Regions from separate parts of the Homo sapiens genome. Here all the other regions are linked to region 4. The links are contacts of gene promoters, found by promoter capture Hi-C in blood cells and fetal thymus (Javierre and others, 2016). All regions are on one chromosome and are shown on one strand. Each heading gives the region's core, a stretch centred on a gene start or on the middle of the fragment in contact. The rest is flanking DNA. Distances are from core to core; before and after follow the strand shown. Region 1 holds the start of MEAK7 (MTOR associated protein MEAK7). Region 2 has its middle 15 kb from the start of HSBP1. Region 3 overlaps MEAK7 (MTOR associated protein MEAK7). Region 4 holds the start of HSDL1 (hydroxysteroid dehydrogenase like 1). Region 5 overlaps ATP2C2 (ATPase secretory pathway Ca2+ transporting 2). Region 6 overlaps ATP2C2 (ATPase secretory pathway Ca2+ transporting 2). Region 7 overlaps CDH13 (cadherin 13).

Region 1 (3,480 bases), core at 506-3,005, 360 kb before region 4:
GGGAAGGGGCGGCTCTCGAGAGGAGCCCGTGGGCTGCTGGACCGGACCGGACAGCACCAGGAAGCCCGGCAGGGTAGGTACCTGGGCTGAGGTTCGCAGTGAGCTGACCCAGAGGCGCAGGCCCAGCTGAGTCGGGGGACTGGAGCAGACGGGTCCAGAGTAGGCCTGGGCCCTGCCCCTCCCTGGCCTCCCACGCCTCTTCAGGCCCTCGGGTCGGGGGAGGGAGAGGTGAAGGCTGCGGGGAGGTGAGGGGTGGGGACAGCGGGGCGGGATGGAGGGAGGGTCTCCTGGGGGGGATCAGAATCATCCTGCACCTCCCGCTGTTTATGTGGTCAAGGTAAGAGGGTGGCGAGGTGCTTCCCCCAGGGCCAAGGCCAGCCGTGTTGAAGGGGGATTCAGAGCCTGTGTAGACGCGGAAAGGGAGGGGTGCCTCCACGGAGGAGGCGAGTCTGGGGTAGACACTGAAGTGTGTGTGGAGGGGGTTTTCCTTCTTGTATTCTGACCACACCCATCTGGGCTTTTCCAGGACAGTGAGCTGATAACTGTTCCCAGGCCATGTAGGTGGCCAGCACAGGACAGGTCACCTTCTGGCCCACAGGAACTTCTTGCCCAGGCTCAAGCTGCCCCTTCGCACAAGGGCCTCTGGGCTCTGAGACACAGACAGGACTTCGAAGCCTGTCCAGATGAGGCAGTTGGAATCTCCCCAGCTTGTGGGGGTACGGAGGGACCCTTGTGTGGCTCTAGGGATGCGGGGCCCTTGGAGTAGAGAGTTGGAGCTTGGCAGCCAGGGTGGGAAGCAGCCATGTAACAGCCTGTTGGAGAAGCTCTGAGCAGGAGGTGACTAAGCCATTCCTAGGATACTAGTGGGAACCTTGGGGGCCATCCTGCAGACAATCGGTCCCTGTCCACCCCTCCATCACGGAGGCAGAGCAACCTTCCGTTTCTTCCAAGCAGGGCAGTTTCTCTTGTTCTAAGACAAGATCCCAAGGAGCCATTCTCTGTTGTCTTGGGCCCATTATTCTGTCTCTGACCTCCAGTAAGCAGATCAAATGCCCTGGGTTACCTTATTTAATCTTCTCAACCTTATGTTAAAGAAATTAATTAATGATGCTTATTAAAAGCACATTAATTATTGAAGACCATTGCAATGGGTATAGGGACCACAGCAATGGGATTTTGTAGTAAAGGAGAGAGATTGGGCTCAACTCTGATTATAGCATGGGCAAGTGGGAAGCCAGGAAGCAGGGTGGGGATCAGTGGATGGAAGATGACTGAGGAAACATCAGGGCGCTAGGGTGGATTCTGGGTAAGCTTACCTAGCAGTTTGTTACTGAAGGCAGGCCAGGGTGATCAGACATCACCTAGGGCAAGCTCGTCCAACCCGTGGGCCATATGTGGCCTAAGGCGGCTTTGAATGACATCCAACACAAATTCATAAGCTTTCTTAAAACATGAGATTTTTTTTTTACCATATATGTAGATATATGCACTTATCAGTTATTGTTAGTGGGTTTTATGTGTGGCCCAAGACAGTTCTTCCAGTGTGGCCCAGGGAAACTGAAAGATTGGATATCCCTAACCTAAGCATTAAACCTGGTTAGATAGCAAGTGAACAGATAATGGTGATCAAATATCAAGGATGAGTGGTTTTGTGGGTTTTTTTGTTTGTTTGTTTTTTGTTTTGCTAAAACCAGATTTTACAAAGAGGTACACAGATGGGCCCAGGAGCCTGACTAAAGTCTGGTCAAGCAAAACATCTTGGTCACTTATTATGGGCTGCTGGAACTTTTGTTTGTGTTTTTATGAGACAGAGTCTTGCTCTGTCACCCAGGCTGGAGTGCACTGTTGTGATCTTGGCTCACTGCGACCTCTGCCTCCTGGTTCAAGCGATCTTCCCACCTCAGCCTCCTGAATAGCTGGAACTATAGTCACACGCCACCACACCCGGCTGAGGTTTGTATTTTTGGCAGAGACGAAGTCTCACTATGTTGCCCAGGCTGGTCTCAAACTCCTGGCCTCAAATGATCCTCCCAAAGTTCTGGGATTATAGGCTTGATGATGGAAAGCTTTCAGTCCCTGGCAAGTTTTCTCGGTGTCATGGGACTTTCACAGTACACCTGGGTACATGGGGTGGCCTCTTCTCTGCAAAGCTGTGCATAACACAACCCTACATTGGCCTCGAGACTTCTGTGGGTTCCCTTGTATCAAGTTCCGCTTCCATTTTGTTCCGCTGCCCTACATCCTCAGAAGCCAGGTTTTCTCACCTTCAGCCCTACCGATGTCTGGGACGGACACTTCCTCGTCGTAAGGCCATCCTGTGCACTGTAGGATTTTTAGCAGTATCCCTGGCCTCTGCCTGCTAGATGCCAACGGCACTCCCCTCCCCCAGTTGTGGCAACCACACACTTTTCCAGTCATTGCCAAATGCCCCTGGGGGACGAAACTGCTCCAGTCGAGCTCCACTGGTACAAGCAACCTTGATGTGCGCTGTCAGCACCAGCACCAGCGTGCATTGTCTTTTTTTTTTTTGAGACCGAGTTTCACTCTTGTTGCCCAGGCTGGAGTGCAATGGCATGATCTTGGCTCATTGCAACCTCCGCCCCCTGGGTTCAAGCAATTCTCCTGCCTCAGCCTCTCAAGTAGCTGGGATTACAGGCATGCACCACCACACCCGGTTAATTTTGTATTTTTAGTAGAGACAGGGTTTCTCCATGTTGGTCCAGCTAGTCTCGAACTCCCGACCTCAGGAGATCCACCCGCCTCGGCCTCCCAAAGTGCTGGGATTACAGGCGTGAGCCACCACACCATTGCCATTTCTTTATCTTGCCTGGCACGGGGCTCTCAAAGGAGACGGGCTGTCCTTGAGCCGTTCTGAGACGTGTCCCTTCACCAGCACTCTGCAGGTACTAAGAATGGCAGTGCTGTGGACAGCGCTGTGTTCTTAGGGGCTGCCCACCTTCCCACCTCACTGGCACCAGCCCTGGGGTTCCTACTGGGGCCTCCCATGCAACCTCCTCTCTCCTGCTTGAAAAAGTGGCGTTGCCAGCCTGGCTCTGCGTCCAAGCCTTTCCTGTCATCTCCTGGGCCTGCCCTGGTCTGCGCCGCTTCTGTGCATTTCTGGGTTCCTGTCCTGCCTGTTGGCACTTGCCCAGCCCTGCACCTTTCTCCCGGCTGTCTGGGGTTGGTGAGGGCTGGCCAGGCTGCACCCTGCTGCTGTTCTCCGACCACAGTGGGGGAGCCTGTTTCTGGCAGAAAGTGGGAGTTGGGGTGGGATGGAAGTGAGGGGCTGGGTGGAGTCAGGCCTGGGCCCCCTTCTGCTGCAGCCCTCTGCTGCCCTCCCCCACGTGCCCTGAGTTCCACCCTTGCCTCGCTGATCCCAACGCTCTTGCTTATGCCCCGTGCGTGCTGTTCCCACTTCCTGGTGAATCACCTGTGAGTCTCTGAAGACTCAGCTGGAATGTGACCTTTGGGACCTTTTCC
Region 2 (3,747 bases), core at 11-2,510, 320 kb after region 4:
CAGTGTAGGGTGCTGAACCAGGCCTGGCCGATGAGATTATTCCACTCCTCTTGGCTGGCTTCCGTGACTGGCTCAGAGATAGGCATATACCCCAAATCAGACCAAGGAGATGCAACCTTGGGACATTTGCGGGAACTTTGGGAAACAACCAGGGAAGCTGTTGTTGTCCAGGGGTTGATGCCTGAGGGGTTTGAATGCAGCTGGAACTGCTTGTGGCCATCTTTCCATGGTGGCCAAGGCATCATACAGGATGGTAGAGTTGAGTGGCAGCAGCCATTCCTGATGAATTTGAGCAGCTGGATCAGCAATGTCTGAATTGACCCCCAAACCCCAGCTTCCAAGTGTCAACAAATGCCCTTTCTTGCTTCAGTGCCTTGAGGTAGATTACTGGCCACTTGCAGCTGAAAGCAAGTGATAAAGAATGTAAATATCCTGAAGAGAATTTCCTGTCCCTTGGTTCCTGAATCACCTTATAGGGATTTGCAGGGAGCTGAATATTCAGTCCGGAGTGAGAGATGCATTCAAGGAGCAAATGGCACTGTTACCCGAGTCAGTCTTGTCTTCAGTCAAGATGACATCCTGAGATCCTGAGATCTTTCCCCCCAATCAGTACAACAGCAGACCTTTGATACTGACTCTATAGGATCCTTTTTTTAAAAAAATTTTATTTATTTATTTATTTTTGTCCGACCACAGCTTGCCAGGATATGCATCTATCCAATGATCAAATGTTTGCTGAGCATCTACTTCGTGCCGGGCACTGTGCTGGTACAGAACTTGTGAAGATGACAATGTTTCCAGGTCAGCCCAGAGAAGCCAGTGCAGCCCATTAGACGATTTTCAGAATCATGGGCTGCAGAGTATGGAAGCATTCTATTTATTCAATTATTATTTCATGTAAGCAGTTGTAAGAATATTTAAACCTACTGCACACGTTAATAAACAGATACATAGTAGGTAGCCAAATTTTACCACACTAGTCATGAGACAAAACTGACACAAAGGAATGTGCAATATTTTTTTTTTTGAGATAGGGTCTCATTATGTTGCAGTGGCACGATCTTAGCTCACTGCAACCTCTACCTCCTGGTGTCAAGTGATTCTCCCACCTCAGCCTCCCAAGTAGCTAGGATTATGCAGGCATGAGCCACCACACCTGGCTAATTTTTGTATTTTTTGGTAGAGATGGGATTTCACTGTGTTGGCCAGGCTGGTCTTGAACTCCTGACCTCAAGTGATCCACCTGCCTCGTAAAATGCTGGGATTGCAGGCATGAGTCACCGCACCCAGCCGGTGCAATAATTTTTAAAACAAATTTTGGCTGCTGGTGTTACTGCCAGGGAAAAATGGATATTTCCACAAGGACTCTGATGGCAATGCTGGCCTCTTGAAGGGCTTTGAATGTTGATAATACAGGTTCTTTGAGGACAGTTTGCTTTTGAGACACTGGCCCCTCTCAGGGCGAGCCTGGAACCTTCCTCTCCTGGCAGTCTCTTGTGACCTGTGCCATGGCAGAGTCAGAAAGATCATACATCAAGCAGAGTCATATGTTAGTAGTTGACTGTAGGTAGTATGCAGGTGTTCACTGTAGAAATTCTTTTAGTTTTGTTGAATGTTTAAAATTTTTCAAAATAAAATGTTGGAAAAAATGAACTTGATTCAAATTTATTTCCCTCCTTTTTTTTTTTTTTTCAATTTTCTGTTTTTCTTTAGCTTCTCTTTGATTACTAATGTTGCCAGTCCCAGAGCAATTGCTTTCTGCAAACAAGTTCTCAGAAGCCTCAGATGAATTTTGGACCTAATTTAATTCCCAATTTATTTGCTTATGAAAAAAAAAAAAGGCTTAATTTCGTCACACCAGATCAACCCTTCATGTACCAGCTATGATTGCTTTTAAAAAGCTGGCTATAAGATGCCAAGCCAGGCAGCATGAGATAGTCCAAATGAATTCATGAAAACTGGGGAAAAAAAGGGGTCTTCAGAGTCTGCAGGACAATGGCAAAACCCATACACAGACAAAGGGAGCCCGGGAGGGGACACGCACGCCAGGATAAAGGGAGAGCACGGATGGTGCCTGTGATCAGGTACAGACAGGAGCGAGCCGCTCCGATGAGCAAGGGTGAATGGGGCCAGTGGGAGCCTCTCTCTGTACCTAACACGTGGCTTGGTGGTTTCAGGTATGTGGGCTGGGAAAACAGGCACAGAGTTGTCCTTTGACTTGTGTCCCCCGCAGAAGATATGTTGACATCCTCACCCTTGGGATCTGTGAATGTGACCTTATTTGGAACTAGGGTCTTTGCAGATATAACTAGATAAGATGAGGTCATCATGGATTTGGGTGGGTTTTAATCCAACAACTGTGGTCCTTATAAGAAGAAGTTTACTTGGACACAGACACATGGAGAGGAGAACAGAACGTGAGGACACACAGACATGCGGAGGGAGGGAGGCCATGTGATGACGGATGCAGAGATGGGAGTGATGCAGCTGCCAGCCACGGGATGCTGGGAACCACTAGGAGCCGCCAGGAACCATTAGGAGCTCCAGGACCTGGAAGAGGCAAGGAAGGCCCTCCCTAGAGCCCCAGAAGGAGCACAGCCCTGCCCACCCCTTGATGTTGGATGTCTGGCCTCCAGACCGTGAAAGGACACATATCTGCTGTTTTTTTTTTTTTTTTTTTTGAGACAGAGTCTCACTCTGTCGCCCAGGCTGGAGCGCAGTGGCGCCATCTCGGCTCACTGCAAGCTCTGCCTCCGGGGTTCACGCCATTCTCCTGCCTCAGCCTCCCGAGTAGCTGGGACTACAGGCGCCCGCCACCATGCCCAGCTAATTTTTTGTATTTTTTAGTAGAGACGGGGTTTCACCGTGTTAGCCAGGATGGTCTCTATCTCCTGACCTCGTGATCTGCCCGCCTCAGCCTCCCAAAGTGCTGGGATTACAGGTGTGAGCCACCACGCCTGGCCCATATCTGCTGTTTTAAGGCCCCCGGTGTGTGGAGCTTTGTTAGGGCGGCCCCAGGACAGTCACACACAGGGTAATGGTGGAGCACGAGAGAGGTCTGCAGAGTCGCTGCTGCAGGGCCCAGCATGACCTTGGTCTGCCCTTGGTGTCAACACCCACAGTCCTCCTTGCTTGTTGCTTCTGTGTCTTGACCCTAAACAACCAATGCCTTGTCTTAGAGCAGAGCACTGTGTCCGTCCACTCGCCCTCTACTCCTCTCTTCTGCAGGCAGCCCATAGACACAGGGGGACTCTGGAGCCCAGCTTAGTCTGGAATCCGACTGTATCAACGTTATCAGTAAAGAACAAAAAGCACCCAGGAGGAGGTGGGTCAGCTGTGGGACCTCATGCAAAGACAGCTGGGGAACAACCACGGGCACTCTGCCTCCTGCCTTCGGGGTGCTGGGTCCACGCCGTGGCTGGTCTCTGCTGGGGAAATAGGTGCATCCTGCTTGCTTTGGGAGCACGTGCTCCAAGCTGCTTTCTCAGTGGAGTTCAGCCGCCTGGGTAGACTGGCCAGCAGAGAGGACTCCTTCATACTTTGATTTCTCACTGAAAATGACTACGCGGTCATTTTGGAGCCCAGTGAGGGGAGGAGCCATGCCATGGAACTCAGTGATGTCACCAGGGCCGGGCCAGCCTGGGTGACCTGTTTGGGTGGGTGGGCGGGCAGCTGGTGCTTCTCAGGTGCCTTCCCTCCTCTTCTTGAAATTATGTCCTGGGCTCAGAGAAGACGAGGCTGTCCCCC
Region 3 (3,556 bases), core at 395-2,894, 340 kb before region 4:
CCCAGCTGTTCATGGCGGCGTCTAAACCTGCCCTCAAGCCTCTGGGGCTGCTGAAACCCAGTGAAGCAAGCCTGAGTCTGTAGCCCAGAGTAAAGCCCTTCACTTAGCTGGTTCCAGTGGAACTTTCTAGCCTAACTATCCTCCTTCCTCCACCCGATGCTCTCAAGCCCCACTGTTCCGTACCTGTCCCACACCTTGTCCTCATGGGATCCCTTCTCCATGGGGACTCTTGCCCCAGCCAGCTCTGTTTCAGGGCCTCCCTCTTGACCTCGGAAGCTGCCTCCCAGAAGCCTCCCAGACCCTGATGGCAGAGGCCCCCCAGCGATCTTTCTAGATTGGAGCCTTGGGCGGTGTCAGCCCACACTCTACAGACTGAGCCCTGTTGGCTTGCTCGGGGCCATCGTCCTCTTCCAGCCTCCTGGTCTTGGTGCCCCCTTCTTATCTGCGTTCCATCATGGTGCCCCCAATTTGCTTCCTGTGACTTCTTTCCCACCTGATGAATAGCCCAACCCCAAATTCCCATGAGCTTGTTTCTCTGCAGCCTTCCAGCTTGTTGTGACAGTTGTGTATGCTGGTGTCGAGGCGGGCAGCCCTTCCGGCCAAGTCCTCAGAACATGGTGGGAAGTGTCCCTCGCTGGGAGCTCCGAGGACGAGGCCTGGCCTACGGCCCTGTCCCCAGTGCTGAGGTGCTTATGGAGTGGAGGAGTCTCTGAGACTGGGGACCCATAGTTTCCAGAGTTTTGACTGGTACCTTTCTTTTAATGGCCTGTGTGCCCACCCCATGCCTTTGGGCGAGGGTAAACTACTTCCTTTCGTAGGCCGTGCCCCTGGGGACAGCTCTGCAGCTGCAGGTTTTCTCTCTCTGCATGGTACGTTCTTTCAGGCCGGGGTCAGCACTACGCAGCGTCACTTGCCTGCTCAGGTAGGCTGTGCTGGAGGCCTCAGTCTCTGCGGAGTGACCACCTGCCCCGTGCTCATAAGCTAAAGGAAGCCTGCTCTTTCTGGCTCGGATGTGCTTGGCCAGCCTGAACTGATTCCAGCAGACAGTGGGCAGAGTTCTGATCTCTGCTCCCCTGGCCAGAGCTAAAAGATGTCCCATTCCTTATTAGCTGTCCCTCTAATCCCTGCATCCCCAGCTCATCCACCTGGGTCCCTAGCAGCTTGTCCCAAACCCTGATCTGCCGACACCTGGACATGGGTGAGAAGGGTCTTGGCCCTGTTGCTTCCTGAGCTGCAGCTTACCGGCATTTCCGGCCCTGTGGGACCGGCTCAGACACCGACCCTGTTTGTTTTGTTCTCTGGCTACTTTCAGGGGACAACAGATGCTTCCTGTTCTCCATCTGCCCCAGCATGGCTGTGTACACACACACGGGCTACAACGACCACTACATGTACTTGAACCATGGACAGCAGACGATCCCGAACGGACTGGTGAGCCCGGGCAGAGCGTGGTGGTCTTGCCTTGGTGATGTCCCCCAGCAAAGGTGTCAACCCCGAGGCTCAGCTCCACAGATCAGGGCAGGGCGCGTGGCATTCAGTTCCTCACGCACGCCATGTCCAGTTCCTTCTGTTTCCAGGGCCGGTGCTGGGGGCAGTGACAGCTGGGCCAGGGTTTCCCTTAGAGAAGGATGTGGCCTCTGCTGGGGCTTCTCAGTGGTTTGTGTGCAGATGGCACACTTGGCCCATTTTTCTGGCCCTCAGATGATTGGTTTGTAGCCTTTGTGGCTAGGGATGGTGTCAGCGCCAGACCTGTCCCTGCGCGTCGCTGGCCTGCCTCATACGTGGGAGTGCTGGACCAAGGGGAATGGACGGCCGGCAGCTCATGAGACAGCATGTGGGGCCCCAGTTGGGGTGACCGTGGCTCCTGTCCAGCCCTCGCTTCAGCTTGGTGACATGGCACAGGAAGCAGGGGGAAGCGGGGGAGGCCTAGGCCGGGTGCAGGGAGTGGGTGGGCACGGGTCCAGGCAGGCCCGAGGGCAGGAGTTGGGGCAGCATCCACGCCGAAGCTCAGCTTGCTCCTGCCAGCTCCCCTGCTGATTTCTTTCCTCTGCTGCTTGACAGAAAGCTCTTTTCTTTTCTTTTTTTTCTTTTTGAGATGGAGTCCACTCTTGTCCAGGCTGGAGTGCAGTGGCGCGATCTCGGCTCACTGCAAGCTCCGCCTCCCAGGTTCACGCCATTCTCCTGCCTCAGCCTCCCAAGTAGCTGGGACCACAGGCACCCGCTATCACGCCTGGCTAATTTTTTTGTATTTTTAGTAGAGACGGGGTTTCACCATGTTAGCCAGGATGGTCTCCATCTCCTGACCTCGTGATCCACCCGCCTTGGCCTCCTAAAGTGCTGGGATTACAGGCGTGAGCCACTGCGCCCAGCTGACAGAAAGCTCTTATTGGGAAAATCCAGCCCTGTTTCTGCAGAGCTGAGGGCAGAGAAGGCTGGTCCGATATAGGGACCAGCGTCCTTCCCAGGCTTACCACACTGCTGCCCTGGAGAGAGGGAGGGGCGTGGCCAGGCCACCTAGAACACCTGGCACCTTCTGGAAAGGGCGGTCTGGTGGCGGCAGGAGTGAGGGTGCCAGCCTCACAGGCAGCACCCGGCAGGCCCCGGTCATCGCTCGTCATTGGCCCTGAGAGAGCGGCTCCGCGTGTCAACTCTGGGCAGTGTGCTCGGGTCTCTGGTTGCCCAAGGTCAGAACTAGGGCGTGCCAGGTGTTACAGGCCTACCAGGGACCAGAGGAGGTTCTCTGCAGGGTGAGATTGAACAGCTCAGAGCCCAGCCATGTGACTGAGGGTGGAAGGCACAGGGGTTCGCATCCGCCTCCGGGTCTGCCTCCGCATCCTGTAAGCCACACACTCGGAGCTGAGTTTCCCAGCCTGTCTTGGGGTGAGGATCGCTGCCCGGAAGCGGGGCACTGGGGCCCCAACACAGGGGGTTTGCAGTGTCAGCTTCTGTGTTCACCTCTCCCCTTATCTTAACTGGGCGGGGCCCTGGGCCCTGGAGGTCTCTTTCTCTATATATATTTAACATTTTTAATTCTCTGATGTCACTTGTGCTTTCAGCCAGCAAATCTTCTTGAGAAAGAGCCATGGGGTGGGTGTCTGGAGACATAGATGACTGTTCTAGTAACTTGGCATGGGATGCTTAAATGGCAGTAATTGATATATTTCACAGTTAAGGAAAACAAGATGATGGCATTCACCACTCACCCGCCCCTGTCTCAGGCTGGTACTTAAGGCGAGAGGCTGGCTTGTGGTATTTGATGTCCACAGACCCTGAGGAGTTGCTGATGCTATTCTCTGTCCTGGCTTCCTTTGCAGGGTATGGGGGGGCAGCACAATTACTTTGGGCTTTGGGTGGATGTTGATTTTGGGAAAGGACACAGCAGAGCCAAGCCCACGTGCACCACGTACAACAGCCCGCAGCTGTCGGCTCAGGAGAACTTCCAGTTTGATAAGATGGAGGTGTGGGCGGTTGGAGACCCCTCAGAGGAGCAGTTGGTGAGTGGAGCTGTCCTCTGCATCCCAGGATGGCCCCTTGAGCCTGGGGGCCTTTCTGCATT
Region 4 (3,423 bases), core at 497-2,996:
TAAGATATATTTGTTGCCTGGAACACAAATCAGCTGGTTTATTTGTTGCCTGCGTTCAGAAACTGGAACACAAATCAAGTGGTTTTTTAATGTAATCACTAAAAGGTTTCCTTTAGGGCACCAAGTCTAGTGGGAGCAGAAGCTGAAGCCAGGCTTCCTTCTTTCCTTTTTTTTTTTTGAGACGGAGTCTTGCTCCATTGCCCAGGCTGGGGTGCAGTGGTGTGATCTTGGCTCACTGCAGCCTCAGCCTCCCCCTTGGCTCACTGCAACCTCTGCCTCCGGGGTTCAGGGAATTCTCCTGCCTTAGCCTCCCAAGTAAGTGGAATTACAGGAGCACGTCACCACGCCCTGCTAATTTTTGTGTTTTTAGCAAAGACAGGGTTTCAATATGTTGGCCAGACTGGTCTCGAACTCCTGACTTCAGGTGACCCACCTGCCTCTGCCTCCCAAATTGCTGGGATTACAGGCGTGAGCCACCGTGCCTGGCCATGAAGGTTATCTTTCAAGTCCATTCTGGCAAACTTTGGTGAGGGGATCACACACTGACCCCAGAACCAAGTCTTCATTCGGACTCTCTACCCTAGGTCAGGCACTGGACTAGACTCCAAATTCAATCAAGATGTCTTGCCCTGACACAACATGCAGTCTGGAGGGAGAGAAAGCCTTTGATCTTACATAGTGATAGCAATAAAGGGACACATTTAAAGCATCAAAGTTGGGACCAGGGAGAATAGCGTGGTGGGTTAGGGCTGGGGCTCTGGAGACCCAGACTGTCTGGGCCTGAGTCTGGTGGGTTTTGTTTGCTTGTTTGTTTGTTTGTTTGTTTGAGACGGAGTCTCCCACTGTCGTCCGGGCTGGAATGCAATGGCGAGATCTTGGCTCACTGCAACCTCCGCCTCCCGGGTTCAAGCGATTCTCCTGCCTCAGCCTCCCAAGTAGCTGAGACTACAGGCGCCCGCCACCACGCCCAGCTCATTTTTTGTATTTTTAGTAGAGACAGGGTTTCACTATGTTGGCCAGGCTGGTCTCGAACTCCTGACTGACCTGATGATCCGCCCGCCTCGGCCTCCCAAAGTGCTGGAATTACAGGCGTTGAGCCACCGCACCCGGCCAAGTCTCTTCTGTCACTGACTAGCCGAGGGTTATCTGTTTGGTGCAAGTTTTGTAACCTCTTAAGTATGTTTCCTCCTCAGTACGAAATGGCGAGAGAAGCCCCTACTGCAGAGCGTTGCTTGCTACCATTATTATTATTGTTATTATTTGGCTGTGAAGATCGGGTATGTGGTGTGGGAAGGGGGCTGGAGCGCCTAGCCGTGTCTGCCCCTCGCCCACCGCCCTCCCTGGGGGGCAGTCGGCACCTTCCTTGCAGCCCCCTCGGCCTGCGCTCCCGTGGTCACCCGCAGACTCCTCCACGCCGGGCTCCTGCGCGCAATCCAGCTCTGCTGCACCACCTGTCGCAGGCTCCGAGGGCTCAGGGTGCATGTTTACTTCGGCGACACCGAACGCCCCGCAGCTTTGGGGGGCCCAGGTTCGCGGCGGACGTCGCTACGGCCCCAGCCCAGCCAGAGAGTACCCTCTTTCCTTCTTCGCCAGCCGCTGGCGCCCTAGTCTTTACAGCCCAACGCTTCCCCGGTCGCCCAGGCAACCGCTGCGCACGCGCACTCGGGACGGACCGGCGCGCTGGGGACGCCGGGGGGTGGGGGCGGGTCTGAGACGGCTCCGCCCCCGGCGCGTACGCGGGTCACGTGAGGGCGCGGCGCGGCAGCAGCTCCGGCGGCCGAGACGGGGGCGGCGGCCGCGCGGGTCTGGCGGGACCGGTTTGGAAGACTTTGCCGGCCTGCAGGTACCGCGCCCCCCGCGCCCTGGGCGCCCTCTCGCGGTCCTTTCGCCCCAGACCCCTCCTCGGTCCCCTCAGCGCCAGCCGGCTGCTTGGCGAGACCCCTCTGAGCTCTCACCACGCCCCCCAGGCCCCGGGCCCCCTCCGCTGCATCCGGCCCCGAAGCCCCTTGGCGCCCCTGACCCCAGGAAATCTTCGTCCCTCCGTCCCGTGAGACTCCTTCCTTCAGACCAAAAAGCCCCAGCCCCGCCCCTTCACATCTCAGAGCCCCCCTTCCCCCGGCTCCATCCTCACGCCCCCCGCCGCGGCGCTGCACCCCTGTTCTCTCTCTTCCCCCGGGCCTTGCCCCCCAAACCGCGAACCCCGTTGTCGCCGGCGCATGCCCTGCCCTCCCTGCAGCCTCTCACCCGGCTCCTCCCCCGAGCGGCCCCAGCAATCGCCTCCTTTGTCGGTGCTTCTTTATTCTCATTTCTGAACGATTTGGTTTGAGTTGTTGTTGCCGTGTTTTTCTAAAATGGAAATATGCAGCGGTCGTGGGTTCAGCCAGGATTTCCGAGTTTGCTCGTGTTGACTGGGCCTTGCCGGGTGCTGGAGGGGAAGGGCTGGGAAGAAGAACCAGGCAGGTCCCCGTTCTGAACGTGCCACCCAGACGCAGCCCCAGAAACCGGATCGCTGCAGCGCCCCTCGGCGATCCCAACATGATGTGTACAGGTGACTGCGAGGCAGTCGGGGGGTCTCACAGTGGGCTCCCTGGACAGGACTCTGCGCCTTGCTATACCTCCATCTGAATTGCAGGTAGCCCCTTTCTGAGTTGTGGGGTCTTGGGTGTGCGACTTTACATCTATAAGACTCAATTTCCCCATCTATAAACGGGAGAGTCTGACTGCGCTTTATAAGATTAATGAGAGAATAAAGTGAGACAATAGGAATAAAGCACTTAGCAGAGTCTTTTGCATAAAGTGAGCTCTCAATTTTACTCTGACCGCCACAGGAGAGAGAGAGAGAGAGAGAGGGAGGGAGGGAGAGGGAGAGGGAGGGGGAGGGGGAGGGTGTTGATTGATTGATTGATTCAGACAATCTCGCTCTGTCGCCCGGGCTGTAGTGCAATGGTGCCTGCGATCTCAGCTCCTGCTACCTCTGCCCGCCATCCCGCACCCCGGGCCCAAGTGATTCTCCTGCCTCAGCCTTCCGAGTAGCTGGGATTACAGGCACGTTCTACCACACCCAGCTAATTTTTTTTTTTTTTTTTTTAGTAGAGACGGGGTTTCGCTGTGTTGGTCAGGGTAGCCTTGAACTCCTGGCCTCAAGTGATCTGCCCGCCTTGGCCTCCCAAAGTTCTGGGGTTACAGACATGAGCCACTGTACCCGGCCAAGTTTGTGGTTTTAATCACTGCTGGAATATTCTAGGGCAACAGAGTTGAACATATTGGTGCTACTTTTTTTTAAAGTAGGTTTTCAAAAATCGAAATGACTTACGCATGACATAAAATTTATCATTTTAGCCATTTTACAGTGTATAACTCAGTAGTTCTTGCTATAGTCACAATGCTATGCAACCATCACCAGTAACTAATTCCAGAACATTT
Region 5 (3,646 bases), core at 587-3,086, 320 kb before region 4:
GATGGTAATTGTGTTAAACCTAATACAACAATCTCGGGAGAATTGATACTTTTTTTTGAGACAGACAAATAGTATTCAATTTTAAATTTCAGTTTCCAGTTGTTCATTGCTAATATATAGAAATACGACTGCTTTTTGTGTGTTAACCTTGTATCTTGTGGCTTTACTAAACTCGTTGATTCTACGAGGGTTTTTCTTTTTTAAAAAGATTTGTTGGGATTTTCTGTGTGGACAATTACGTTATCTGTGATTTTCTCCTTTCCAGGCTCTTTGCTAATGCCTTTTAACTTTTCTTGCCATATTACACTGGCTAGGACTTCTAATACTGTGCTGAATAGGAGTGGTGAGGCTGGTCACCCTTGGACCTTATCCTGTGGGGAAAGAATTCAGTTTTTCATCATTAAGTATGATGTTAGCTATAGGTTTTTTGTAGATGTTCTTTATCAGGTTGAAGAAGTTTCCTTCAATTCCTAGTTTGAGAGTTTTTATTACAAATGGAGATTGAATTTTATCAAATGCCTTTTCTGCATTAATTGATATAACCATGTGTTTTTCCTTCTTCAGACTATTAATATAGTGAGTTATATTGGTTTTTGAATGTTGAACTTTTCAGTTATATTGGTTTTGAATGTTGAACTTTGGAATGCTTGAATTCCATTCCTCAATTAACCCCACTTCGTCCTGGTGTCTTATATTCTTCGTACCTGGCTAGATCTGATTTCCTCATATTTTGTTGAGGATTTTCGTGCATATATTCATAAGGGATGTTGGTCTCTAGTATTTTTCTCTAGTTTTGGTATCAGAGTGATTGTTGACCTTATAAAATGAGAAGTGCTCGGTCCCCTTTTATTTTTGGAATTCAGTGTATCGAATTGCCATTTCTTTACAAGTTTAGTAAAATTCACCAGTGAAATCATCTGGCTTCAGAAACTGCCTTTTTTGGAAGGGTTTCAACTTCAGCTTATCTATTTAATCTTCAGTGAGTTTTGGTAGTTTTTGGTTTTCAAGCAATTGGTTTATTTCATCCAATTGATTGAATTTAGGTACATAAAGATGTACATAGTATTATTTATTATTATTGTTGGAATATCTTGAAGGGTTTGTGGTGATATACTTTTTCATTCCTGACATTGGTCATTTCTCTTCCCTTTTTTCTTTGATAAGCTTATTGCAAGACTGATAGTTTTATTGATCTCTTCGAAAAACTAGGTTTTGATTGATTTTCCTCTATTTTTGCTTTTTCGTTTGATTTCTGCTCTTTATTTTGGTGACTGTTTCTATGCTACTCGTGAATGGGGTGTTCTACAAGTGTAAATCAAGCTAAGTTGCTTAATGGTGGTGTTCAAGTCTACTGTGTCCTTAATGAAAAGAAGGTCTTAGTTTTAATGTAGTCTAATTTATATTTTATTGTTAGCATTTTGTGTCTTACTACAGTTTTATCCCTAAAGTTTACATAAGCAAGAGTTCAGAGTAATCGACCCTGGTATTTTGATTACTTAATTTTAAATGGGAAGTAAATGTCTCGGGCCAGCAGTGTGCCCAAGGATCCTGAAAAGTAGAGCAAGAATTGTCCCTGACTCAGGGGGAGGCACTCCTTAGCAGACTGTGGAAGTGGCACACTTCAGCCTTGACCTCTTAGTGGTTCCAGGGGTTGGCAGCTTCTAGGAAGACAGCCCCACAGCTCAAAAGGTTTCTTCTCCAGCCAGCCCTGTGTCTGTGTCTCACTAGGAATGGCCCATCGCTGCATCTCCTCCTGTGGCCCTGGTGTCACAGGTTGTAGCCAGAGAGGGGCTTCTTCCCAGGCTGTGAATCCTACTATGGAGGACTTTGGACTCTGCCTGGAACCCTGGCAGGGGTCCACTCTGACCTTCCTTATCTTCGTCTGACCCAGCTGTTACCACCCCTGGTAGCCCTTTTCATAGCTACCGTGGCTGGGTGCAACGGGTACTTTTATCTGACAACTTGGCCAGGCCAAGTTGATTTTCGTCAAACAAACACTGGTCTAGATGGCGCTGTGTAACTAACATGTAAGCCCGTAGACTTGAAGTAAAACAAACAGTTTATCCTTCATAACGTGAGTGGGCCTCATCCGATCAGTTGAGGACTATAAGAGGAAAAGGCTGAACTCCCTTGAGGAGGAGGAAATTCTGCCTCCAGCCTGCATCCCCAGCTCTTCCCTGGGTCTCCAGGATGCTGGCCTGCCCTCAAGATGTTAGACTTGCCAGCCCCCAACATCCTATGAGCCAGTTCCTTAAAACAAATCTCTGCATCTCCCTCCATCCTGTTGGTTCTGTTTCTCTAGTGAGGCCTGACTAGTAAATGGGGGGTTCTAGCTCTGGCCTTATTTCCTGAGAGATGGGGACGGAGTTCCCCTTCTGGTTCCCTTTGGTGGTTCTGGCGTGGCTTCAGGCAGAAGAACAGCATGGAGACCTCTCTCCTCTGCCATCTGTCACGTGGAAGAGCAGATCGGTTTTTGGAAGTCTTTGGGGCAGTGGGAAATCAAGCTTGTCTGCAGGCAGCAGGAGATACTACAGTTCCTGGTTCCGGAGAGAAGGGCCACTTTCTGAGAGAGACTCTTGCTTTGTTGCCCATGCTGCAGTGCAGTGGTACAATCTCCACCTCCTGGACTCAAGCCATTCTCCTGCCTCAGCCTCCCGAGTAGCTGGGATTAACAGGTGTGCATCATCACGCCTGGCAACTGTTTTTTTTTTTTTTTTTAAACTTTTAGTAGAGACAGACAGGGTTTTGCTGTGTTGGCCAGGCTGGCCTCAAGTGATCTGCCTGCCTTGGCCTTGCAAAGTGCTGGGATTACAGGCGTGAGCCACCATGCCCAGCCCTACTCTTTATGTCCAAAAGCCGAGGCCTTCCTGTAGGCCATTCATGATGGATTGCTGCTCACCCCACGTGGCCATTAACACATGGCTGTGGGTTTCCAACCTGGCCCCTTGTATGAAAAACCCTAGGTAAACACATCAAAATAATTATCCCCCGGCATAGCACTTTATTTAAAAGTCCCTCATTTTATGATGAGGAAATGGGGCCTCCAGGAGGGCAATGGGCAGAGTGTGACCATCCTACCCACTGCCTCTCAGGAGCCCCTTGTATCTGCCACGAGTGGCCTGCCTCACTGCAAGCTGTGGCACAGATACGTAGTTAGACATGGTTAATAAAAATCATTGTGATTTAATAAACAGTGTGGTGTTTCTGTACAGGCCCCTCCCTGTCTGTCCCACAGCCAGCGGGAACGCTGGATGGATGTGGGCCTGGGTCCCTGGAGCCCACGAGGTTCCTGCAGCTTTCCTAAGAGGAAAAACTGATCCGGTGATGGAAGGCTGCGGCCTCCTAAAAGTCTCCCCTGACGAGGAGACACGGCAGGGGCCACAGTCACAACCAGATCGAGATGATTAGGGAAGGTGCCGCGGAGTGCGGTCCACTACACATCTTCAGGGTGCATCTGGACTCTCTTGGGGCTGCAACAGTATTTTTCACATAGTTTGAGGAGCTCTGACAAAATGAAGACGGATGAGGCCAATCCAGTTAAAAACAGCAAATCTGCCAAGGGAGAAAACAGAAAAGATTCAGGACGGGCTGCAGCTCTGTTGCGCCGGCAGGAAGCGCCTTCCCTGCCAGTCCTCCTGATAAAGTG
Region 6 (3,346 bases), core at 43-2,542, 300 kb before region 4:
CCTGACTCCTTGGGACGGGTGACCTCCTTGACTAGGGACCCTGCTTGAATGCACTTAAAAGTCAATGTTACATGCAAGCTTAAAGCTCTGGGCCGGGACCACAGGCACTGACCCCGCAAACCGAGCGACCCCATCCTCTTCTCTTCCTGCAGGCAGAATGACCTCTGCTGGGGCGTCAGCGGCAGGGGGATGCCCCCGTTGTTGTACATGGTGCAGTAGCGGATCACCTCTTCCAAGGCCCCTTTCATGAAGTAAATGTCTTCCTGATCCTTAGAAAAGACAAAGGGAAGAAATCCACTATCACTGGAAGCCTTGGTTCATACTGACCATCACCCCACTCTGCACAAGGTTACAAAGACACACACGGGGATCTTTGCAGCGGAGTTATTTATCATAGGCTGGTGCTGTTCACAGGTGCTGGACAGGTTCGCGAAGTTCTAGAATCCATCCATGGAACGTTTTGCAGTCCAGAGAAAGAACAAGGCCAATCTTCAACCTGTACTACCCTTGTTCTTTTTTCAGTTCCCTTGTTATGGTCACTCAGAGCGTCTTGTATGTTTCATGCACGGGAGGTATCATCCCAGCTGGGACTGTGCCTTTGGGGGTGTGATTAACTGGGAATATTTCCATTAGACTGTTGCCTCCCTAGGGCAGCACCAAGTCTATTTTGTACCCACCCCCAGCACTTGGCTTGTAATAGTGAAGCCACATGAGTAGCTGATCATTTTTCCTGTGTTTTTCTTAAGCTCTGTCATGACAAACATGTAGACTATGAACTCCACGGGGGGAGGCCCTGGGTCAGTGAGAGTCACACTGTACCCCTAGCCTCAATACCGGACATACCTGGCTCACGTGGGTGCACAGTGTGAATGTAACACTGTTATAAGATAATATAATATTAATTATATATGTTATTAATATGTAATTAACATATTAATGTTATTAATAAATATAATATTAATTACAGATGTTAATACATTAATTATAGTACATATGTATTGTATATTATTTATATGTATTATATTACATTATATTATTTATATGTATATTATATATTATATATAACTAATATATTCTTATACAATTATAATATATATTACATAATATATATTAAATAATATATGTAATATATGTAATATATATTACATATTATATAATTAATATGTTAATATAACAAGCTTATATTAACCAACACAGACATCTAAGACATAATATTAAAAGAAAATCTTAGGGGGAAAAAGCAAATTACACACACTATAAATAGTGACCTTGTTTTGAAAATACCATCCAGATGTTGTCGTTTGCATATTTAAAATCTGCAATGCTCCATCCCAGACTTAAAATAGAATTACCTCTGGGTGGGTGGTGGGGAGGGAGGGAAGAAGGGTGGAATGAAAGAAGCTTTCATTTTTATGTCATATTTCTATACTTTTTCAATGAGAATATATTACCATTGCCTTGCAAGGGAAAAGATTTAAAGGTCTAAAAGTTTTTTGAAAATCTATAATCCCTTCTAAGCCCCTGAAATGTACATGTGTCCATCCATGCACAGGAAGGGCCTGGCATGAGCTGGCTGAGCTGCCCACAGCCCTGAGTGGGAGCTGAGCAGTCTGCGTGGGCAGACATGATAGATTCTAGAAAGAGTGGGAGGGAAGAGGAGGGGTGGAGAAAACGGTAGAAGGCAACAAAAACTTTAAAAAATAGCTTTTAAGGAAAATCTGAAAAGCCACAACAAATCTGAAAAGAAAATTTTAAAAATCAGCTGTAATGTCCACCCGGGGTGGCCATAGCTTGGTATGTGTTCCTCTAGCCAGGGACAACACGTGTGCACACGCTGATGCACCACACAGACACGCCTTCCGTACTGAAGGATTTGCTCCCCAGTATGACGGGGAGATGAGCTAAGAAGTATAAAAAACTTAGCACAGGGCTGCAAAGAGAGGACTGGCAAGTTGGCGACTGGTGTTAGCAGCAGGGCCTCAGTCACTGGATTACAGGCTGGTCGATCTCAACATTTGCACCTGCATCAGAATCTGCAGAAAATGAAGGTTACTGGGTCCCACCCCTGGACCCTTCGACTCAGGAGGTCTGGCATGGAACCTGAGATTCTGCATTTCTAATAAAGTCTCGCGTGGTAACAACCGCTGCTACTCCAGGGACCCTGCTTTAAGAACTTCTGTTTTAAACAAAAAGCCAGAAGCAGACCCAAGAGAATCAAAGGTATGATGGTGATTAAGTTTTTCCATGTATTTGGAACGTCACAGAAGCAGCCAGGAACTTTCAAATTATCCTTGAAGTCTGCATTTTGCTTTATCTCTGGGTGGGGGCCCGGGCAGAAAGAGAGAAGAGGTTGAAGATTGAAAGGTCTCACCTCAGTCTTCAGACTGCATTTCACCGCCATCCACTTCTGCTCTGAACTGAATGGAATCTCTTTTTTTCTTATATATGAATTTTTAATATCACTTAAGTCCATCTAGCATAATAAAATGACACATTTTTAGTGAGTCATCCGAAGCCAATCTCTATACAAAGCTCAGTCCATTTAAATTATTCATTGTTCAAACCACCTCTGGCAGATAAGAAATCCAAGCATTTAGCACATAGAAAAAAGGCCATTTCTCTTGGAATGTCCCACCTAGAAAAAAAAAAAAAAGTCTCTTCTCTTGGCTGAAGGGCAGACAAGACGGTCTTTGCAACAGCTTCTATCTGAAATCTGCTTAGAAACAAACCTGCAGTGTTTCTGCCGGGAGGAATGTTTCAGACTTGAAGGTGTAGCAATTTCTCAGACGGAACCCCCTGAGTCAGTGAGACAGCCCTGCGTCCAGAACATGGGGTCCTTGCCAGCCCCCCGTCCACAGCCTGGGGTCCTTGCCAGCCTGGCCCTTTGTTGCTCTTTGGTGGCTTTTGGATCAGTGATGTGACAACTCAGAATCTCAGTTTCCCCAGGTGTAAACCAGTCATGACCCATGCATCCCACTGTCCCACAGGGGGTGAAAATGCGGTGCAGCAGGGGCACAAAAAACTACTCCTTTTACGTAGAAAGTGCAGATATGCGTACAATACAGTGTATCTACCATATTAAATTTCATGGGGAGGGAGTGGGGTGATTAGGGAAGAAATGCCTAAACCATCTCCTTAGTGGGGTTGAATTGTACCCCACAAAAGATATGTTGAAGTCCTAACCTCGGAACCTCTGAATGTGACCTGATTTGGAATAGCGCCTTTGCAGATATCGTCAATTTGAGGCTATTAGGGTTGGCCCTAAGCCAACATGACTGGATATAAGAGGAGGAAGGCCGGGCATGGTGGCTCATGCCTGTAATCCCAGGACTTTGGGCAGCCGAGG
Region 7 (3,582 bases), core at 645-3,144, 340 kb after region 4:
GGAAGGAAAGTTTTCTTATAGACCAGATTTGCAAGTTTGGGTTTCCTCTGCTTCATCCCCCATCATTGACAACTTGCTTAGTCCTCAGCACTTTCATGCATTGTTTGTGATGACACAGTTTGTTCCTGGAGATAAATGGGGTGGTGCTGCCTTAGCATATAGCAAGAAAAGTGCCAGGGTGGGGCCATGCATATCACTTAGTAGTCGTGAGACCTACTGTGAGATAGTTTTAACTGTGTGAACCTCAGTTTCTTCATCTATAGAATGGTGCTAATGTCTATTACATAAATTATGTATATGATATATAATTATGTATTACACATAAATTACAAATATAACTACAAGGTAATATGTATATACACATCTATATAGATACGTAAAGTATCCGGCCCGTAGGAAGCACTTAACGAATACCCCCTTCCCTTTTTTTTTTTTTTTTTCGCTTTTGAGTTGGAGTCTTGCTCTGCTCTGTTGCCCAGGCTGGAGTGCAGTGGCACTATCTTGGCTCACTGCAACCTCCGGCTCCCAGGTTCAAGAGAGTCTCCTGCCTCAGCCTCCTGAGTAGCTGGGATTACAGGTGCCCACCATTACACCTGGCTTAGTTTTATATTTTTGGTAGAGACGAGGTTTCTCCATGTTGGCCAGGCTGGTCTTGAACTCCTGACCTCAGGTGATCGGCCCACCTCTGCCTCCCAAATTGCTGGAATTACAGGCGTGAGCCACCACATCTGGCCCCCTCCTTTTTTTACAAAATGATCTCACTAACCTTCTTGCTATCTTCTCTCTCTTTCTATCTCTCTCTCTCTATCATCTATCCATCTATCCTTCTATCATCTATATATCTGTTTTTCCAAATCAGAATGATTGACTTTTATGAAAGAAGCAGAAGAGAGCCAATTATTAAGCAGGCAGCACTTGGTTTTAGTCTTGGTTTTTAAACATCATAGGCTAACCTGGTGTGGAGTCCTGATAAGTAAGCAACAATGAGGAAGGGGGGTCCCAGGTAGGGAACAACTGTTCCAAGAGACAGCTAATCACAAACAAGCCGCTGGCACAACTACCTCACTCCAAGTGTAACATCCTCCAGCACAACCCTATAAAACTTCCCTCCAGCCCCTGCCTCTTTCCAGACATCCCCTTCTCTGCTGTGCTGCCTGTTGCTTCCTTGCAACGTACTTTCCCTTGAATAATCAGCCTTTCTTTACCTACAACTGTCTTGGTAAATTGGTAAATTCTTCTTCTTCTTCTTCTTCTTCTTTTTTTTTTTTTTTGAGACAGAGTCTCACTCTGTTACCCAGGCTGGAGTGCAGCGGCGCTATCTCGGCTCACTGCAACCTCCGCCTCCCAGGTTCAAGCGATTCTCCCGCCTTAGCTTCCTGAGTAGCTGGGATTACAGGCATGCGCCACTGTGCCCAGCTAATTTTTGTATTTTTGGTAGAGATGGGGTTTCACCACTTTGGCTAGGCTGGTCACGAACTCCTGACCTCCGGTGATCTGCCCGCCTTGGCCTCCCAAAGTGCTGGGATTACAGGCGTGAGCCACCACGCCCTGCCGGTAAATTCTTTTACCATCCACAACACCGGCACCAGCCAGTTGCACCCATGACACTGTGCACCATTGGAAAAAAAGGTCCCTTTGCTCTGTCACAGTGTTTAGACCAGACTGTACTAAAGATGGTCTAAGACTAAACACACAAGTTAAAAATCCCAGATAAGCTTTATTTGAATGTTTCACAAACAAGTTGCACATTTCTCTGTAACTACATAGTAAAGCAAATGTTAGTTTACAGCTCAGAAACTGTAAGCAATTCAGCAGTGAGGGCCCAAAGGAGCGACATCTGCCATAGACTGAATATTTTAACATGATTAACTTTTATCCCTTTTGAAAAGTGTGTGTGAATAAAAAGCATTTAAAATTTCTTAAAATTTTTATCTGGGGGGATACATAAAATTTTGTCATCAGGACAGTGTTGACATGTGCATGACAACACAGATATAACTCTCTAATAATAGTCTGAATTCATGTGTACGACAGATATAGAATGGCTTTAGTACTCTCTAAAGAAAAAGCTTTTTAAAAAGTAGCAAAAAAATAGTCTCCAGTTTATTTTCATAGTGCTTCTATAAGCCCCTTTCTCCAAATCTTCATAGCTTCAGAGTGAAAACCTCCCTCGTCCTACACCACCCAACGCTTTTCACCATCTCCCTACCAATGAGACGGCACGTGGAAAGTCAAATAAAATGGTTCAAAGGCGTATCAAGCTCAGCAACCCTCCAACGATAGATGTGATGATAGCAACATAGTATGAGAGAGAGGAAATTTTTCCGCTTACTTAATTTGATGAGTATCTCAATTATTTCTGCTTAAATTATAGACTGACTCTTCTTAAATTATATAATTGAAGTTCTTATCTGAAACCCTCATACACACACCCATTCCCACCATTTTTTGCTGTCTCTCCATGTCTTGTATATGCTTTCATGTGAACACGGTCACAACTGCAGAATTTTTTCAATAGTGGGCTAATCTATTAGCAATAGGAAATATAGTAAGGGTAACACATTGCATATAGTAAAAGAATTGTTAATTGTGTTAGATGAACCATTTTGAAAGCATTTTATCATTAGACTGTGAAAATTATCAAATCTCAACAGTCAGTTAAGGAGAGAAGATGGAGGTCTTTATGAAAGATGTAGCCAGATTATTAGATTATTATTCTTAGTATTTGGTAAACAGAAAAGGTAGGTGGCTTTTTTAGTGCTTGGGTTTCCTGTTGGTGTGACTTACCCTGTTGACTCATGTTTAAGGCAGCTACACGTAAACAGATTTATGGGCTACCTTTACAAAATCAGCAACTACTTAGAGATCCTTTAGAATTTGCCCCTTTGAATGATTTATAGCAAAGCACAGTGCAAACCCTTTGAGACCCCACCCCACTTTCTCCCTCAGTTTTCTCTCCCCTCAGTTGGTTTGGTAGTGAATGGGTACTCTGGAGTTCATAAATTTCCTTTTCTTTCTTTTTTTTTTTTTTTTTTTTTGACGGAGTCTTGCTCTGTTGCCCAGGCTGGAGTGCAATGGCTCACTGCAAACTCTGCCTCCTGGGTTCAAGCGATTCTCCTGCCTCAGCCTCCTGAGTAGCTGGGGTTTCAGGTGTGCACCACCACACCCAGCTAATTTTTGTATTTTTTAGTAGAGATAGGGTTTCACCATGCTGGCCAGGCTGGTCTTGAACTCCTGACCTTAAGTGATCCACCCGCCTCTGCCTCCCAAAGGGCTGGGATTACAGGCATGAGTCACCATGCCCGGCTACTTTTGATTAACTGAGATGTTAAATTAATCTAGGAGAAGCCCCTCATCTACCTGCTAACAAGCCATGGAAGGGAAGGGGCAAATAATTACGTTATCTTGCACAGGAAAAATTTCTAAGGTCTCAATATTAATTTAGAACGATGTTAACATTTTTTTTTTTAACAGAAAGCTTTCAGATTGAAGAAGTATAGCATGAACTTAATAATAGGTAACAGAAGATACTGTTAGTAAAAGGTACTTAATAGTAAAGGGTACCTCATAGTAAAAGGTACT

The links. The method cuts DNA at HindIII sites, captures the fragments that hold promoters and counts their contacts. A CHiCAGO score of 5 or more calls a contact.
Region 1: a fragment that was not itself captured here is called in contact with the fragment with the promoter of HSDL1 in region 4 in 8 of 17 cell types (M2 macrophages, M1 macrophages, total B cells and 5 more); the score reaches 8.0 in M2 macrophages.
Region 2: a fragment that was not itself captured here is called in contact with the fragment with the promoter of HSDL1 in region 4 in 3 of 17 cell types (neutrophils, naive B cells and total B cells); the score reaches 5.3 in neutrophils.
Region 3: a contact is called between a fragment that was not itself captured here and the fragment with the promoter of HSDL1 in region 4, in 2 of 17 cell types (M2 macrophages and megakaryocytes). The highest score is 5.7, in M2 macrophages.
Region 5: a fragment that was not itself captured here is called in contact with the fragment with the promoter of HSDL1 in region 4 in 2 of 17 cell types (M2 macrophages and M0 macrophages); the score reaches 7.8 in M2 macrophages.
Region 6: a fragment that was not itself captured here is called in contact with the fragment with the promoter of HSDL1 in region 4 in 4 of 17 cell types (M2 macrophages, endothelial precursors, megakaryocytes and 1 more); the score reaches 8.4 in M2 macrophages.
Region 7: a contact is called between a fragment that was not itself captured here and the fragment with the promoter of HSDL1 in region 4, in 1 of 17 cell types (total CD8 T cells). The highest score is 5.4, in total CD8 T cells.

What each region holds. Positions count from the first base shown.
Region 1 is chr16:84,501,194-84,504,673 of GRCh38, reverse strand. MEAK7 (MTOR associated protein MEAK7) reads left to right here and starts at 15. Exons shown (of 8, transcript NM_020947.4): 1 at 15-73. RefSeq lists a silencer at 225-274 and an enhancer at 105-605. The HindIII fragment of the contact is 627 bases long and covers 1,442-2,068 here.
Region 2 is chr16:83,820,979-83,824,725 of GRCh38, reverse strand. No RefSeq gene overlaps it. Among named protein-coding and RNA genes, the nearest start is that of HSBP1, 15 kb to the right of the region's middle. The HindIII fragment of the contact is 6,129 bases long and covers 1-3,747 here.
Region 3 is chr16:84,480,467-84,484,022 of GRCh38, reverse strand. It overlaps MEAK7 (MTOR associated protein MEAK7), which reads left to right. Exons shown (of 8, transcript NM_020947.4): 6 at 1,313-1,431; 7 at 3,315-3,494. Among named protein-coding and RNA genes, the nearest start is that of ATP2C2-AS1, 15 kb to the right of the region's middle. RefSeq lists an enhancer at 259-760. The HindIII fragment of the contact is 7,713 bases long and covers 1-3,556 here.
Region 4 is chr16:84,143,500-84,146,922 of GRCh38, reverse strand. It overlaps HSDL1 (hydroxysteroid dehydrogenase like 1), which reads left to right and starts at 1,746. Exons shown (of 6, transcript NM_031463.5): 1 at 1,746-1,843. It overlaps DNAAF1 (dynein axonemal assembly factor 1), which reads right to left and starts at 1,615. Exons shown (of 12, transcript NM_178452.6): 1 at 1,359-1,615. The coding sequence starts at 1,482. RefSeq lists silencers at 1,562-2,011, 2,172-2,221, 2,272-2,321. The HindIII fragment of the contact is 7,366 bases long and covers 1-3,423 here.
Region 5 is chr16:84,463,520-84,467,165 of GRCh38, reverse strand. It overlaps ATP2C2 (ATPase secretory pathway Ca2+ transporting 2), which reads right to left. Exons shown (of 27, transcript NM_014861.4): 27 at 2,979-3,552. The coding sequence ends at 3,434. The region is part of intron 1 of ATP2C2-AS1 (ATP2C2 antisense RNA 1); the gene reads left to right. Among named protein-coding and RNA genes, the nearest start is that of ATP2C2-AS1, 2.0 kb to the left of the region's middle. The HindIII fragment of the contact is 1,340 bases long and covers 1,167-2,506 here.
Region 6 is chr16:84,445,456-84,448,801 of GRCh38, reverse strand. ATP2C2 (ATPase secretory pathway Ca2+ transporting 2) reads right to left here. Exons shown (of 27, transcript NM_014861.4): 16 at 2,372-2,473; 17 at 113-269. Among named protein-coding and RNA genes, the nearest start is that of ATP2C2-AS1, 20 kb to the left of the region's middle. The HindIII fragment of the contact is 223 bases long and covers 1,181-1,403 here.
Region 7 is chr16:83,798,756-83,802,337 of GRCh38, reverse strand. CDH13 (cadherin 13) reads right to left here. Exons shown (of 14, transcript NM_001257.5): 14 at 1,698-3,582. All of the region lies in intron 2 of CDH13-AS2 (CDH13 antisense RNA 2), which reads left to right. Among named protein-coding and RNA genes, the nearest start is that of CDH13-AS2, 3.4 kb to the left of the region's middle. RefSeq lists a silencer at 1-105. The HindIII fragment of the contact is 354 bases long and covers 1,718-2,071 here.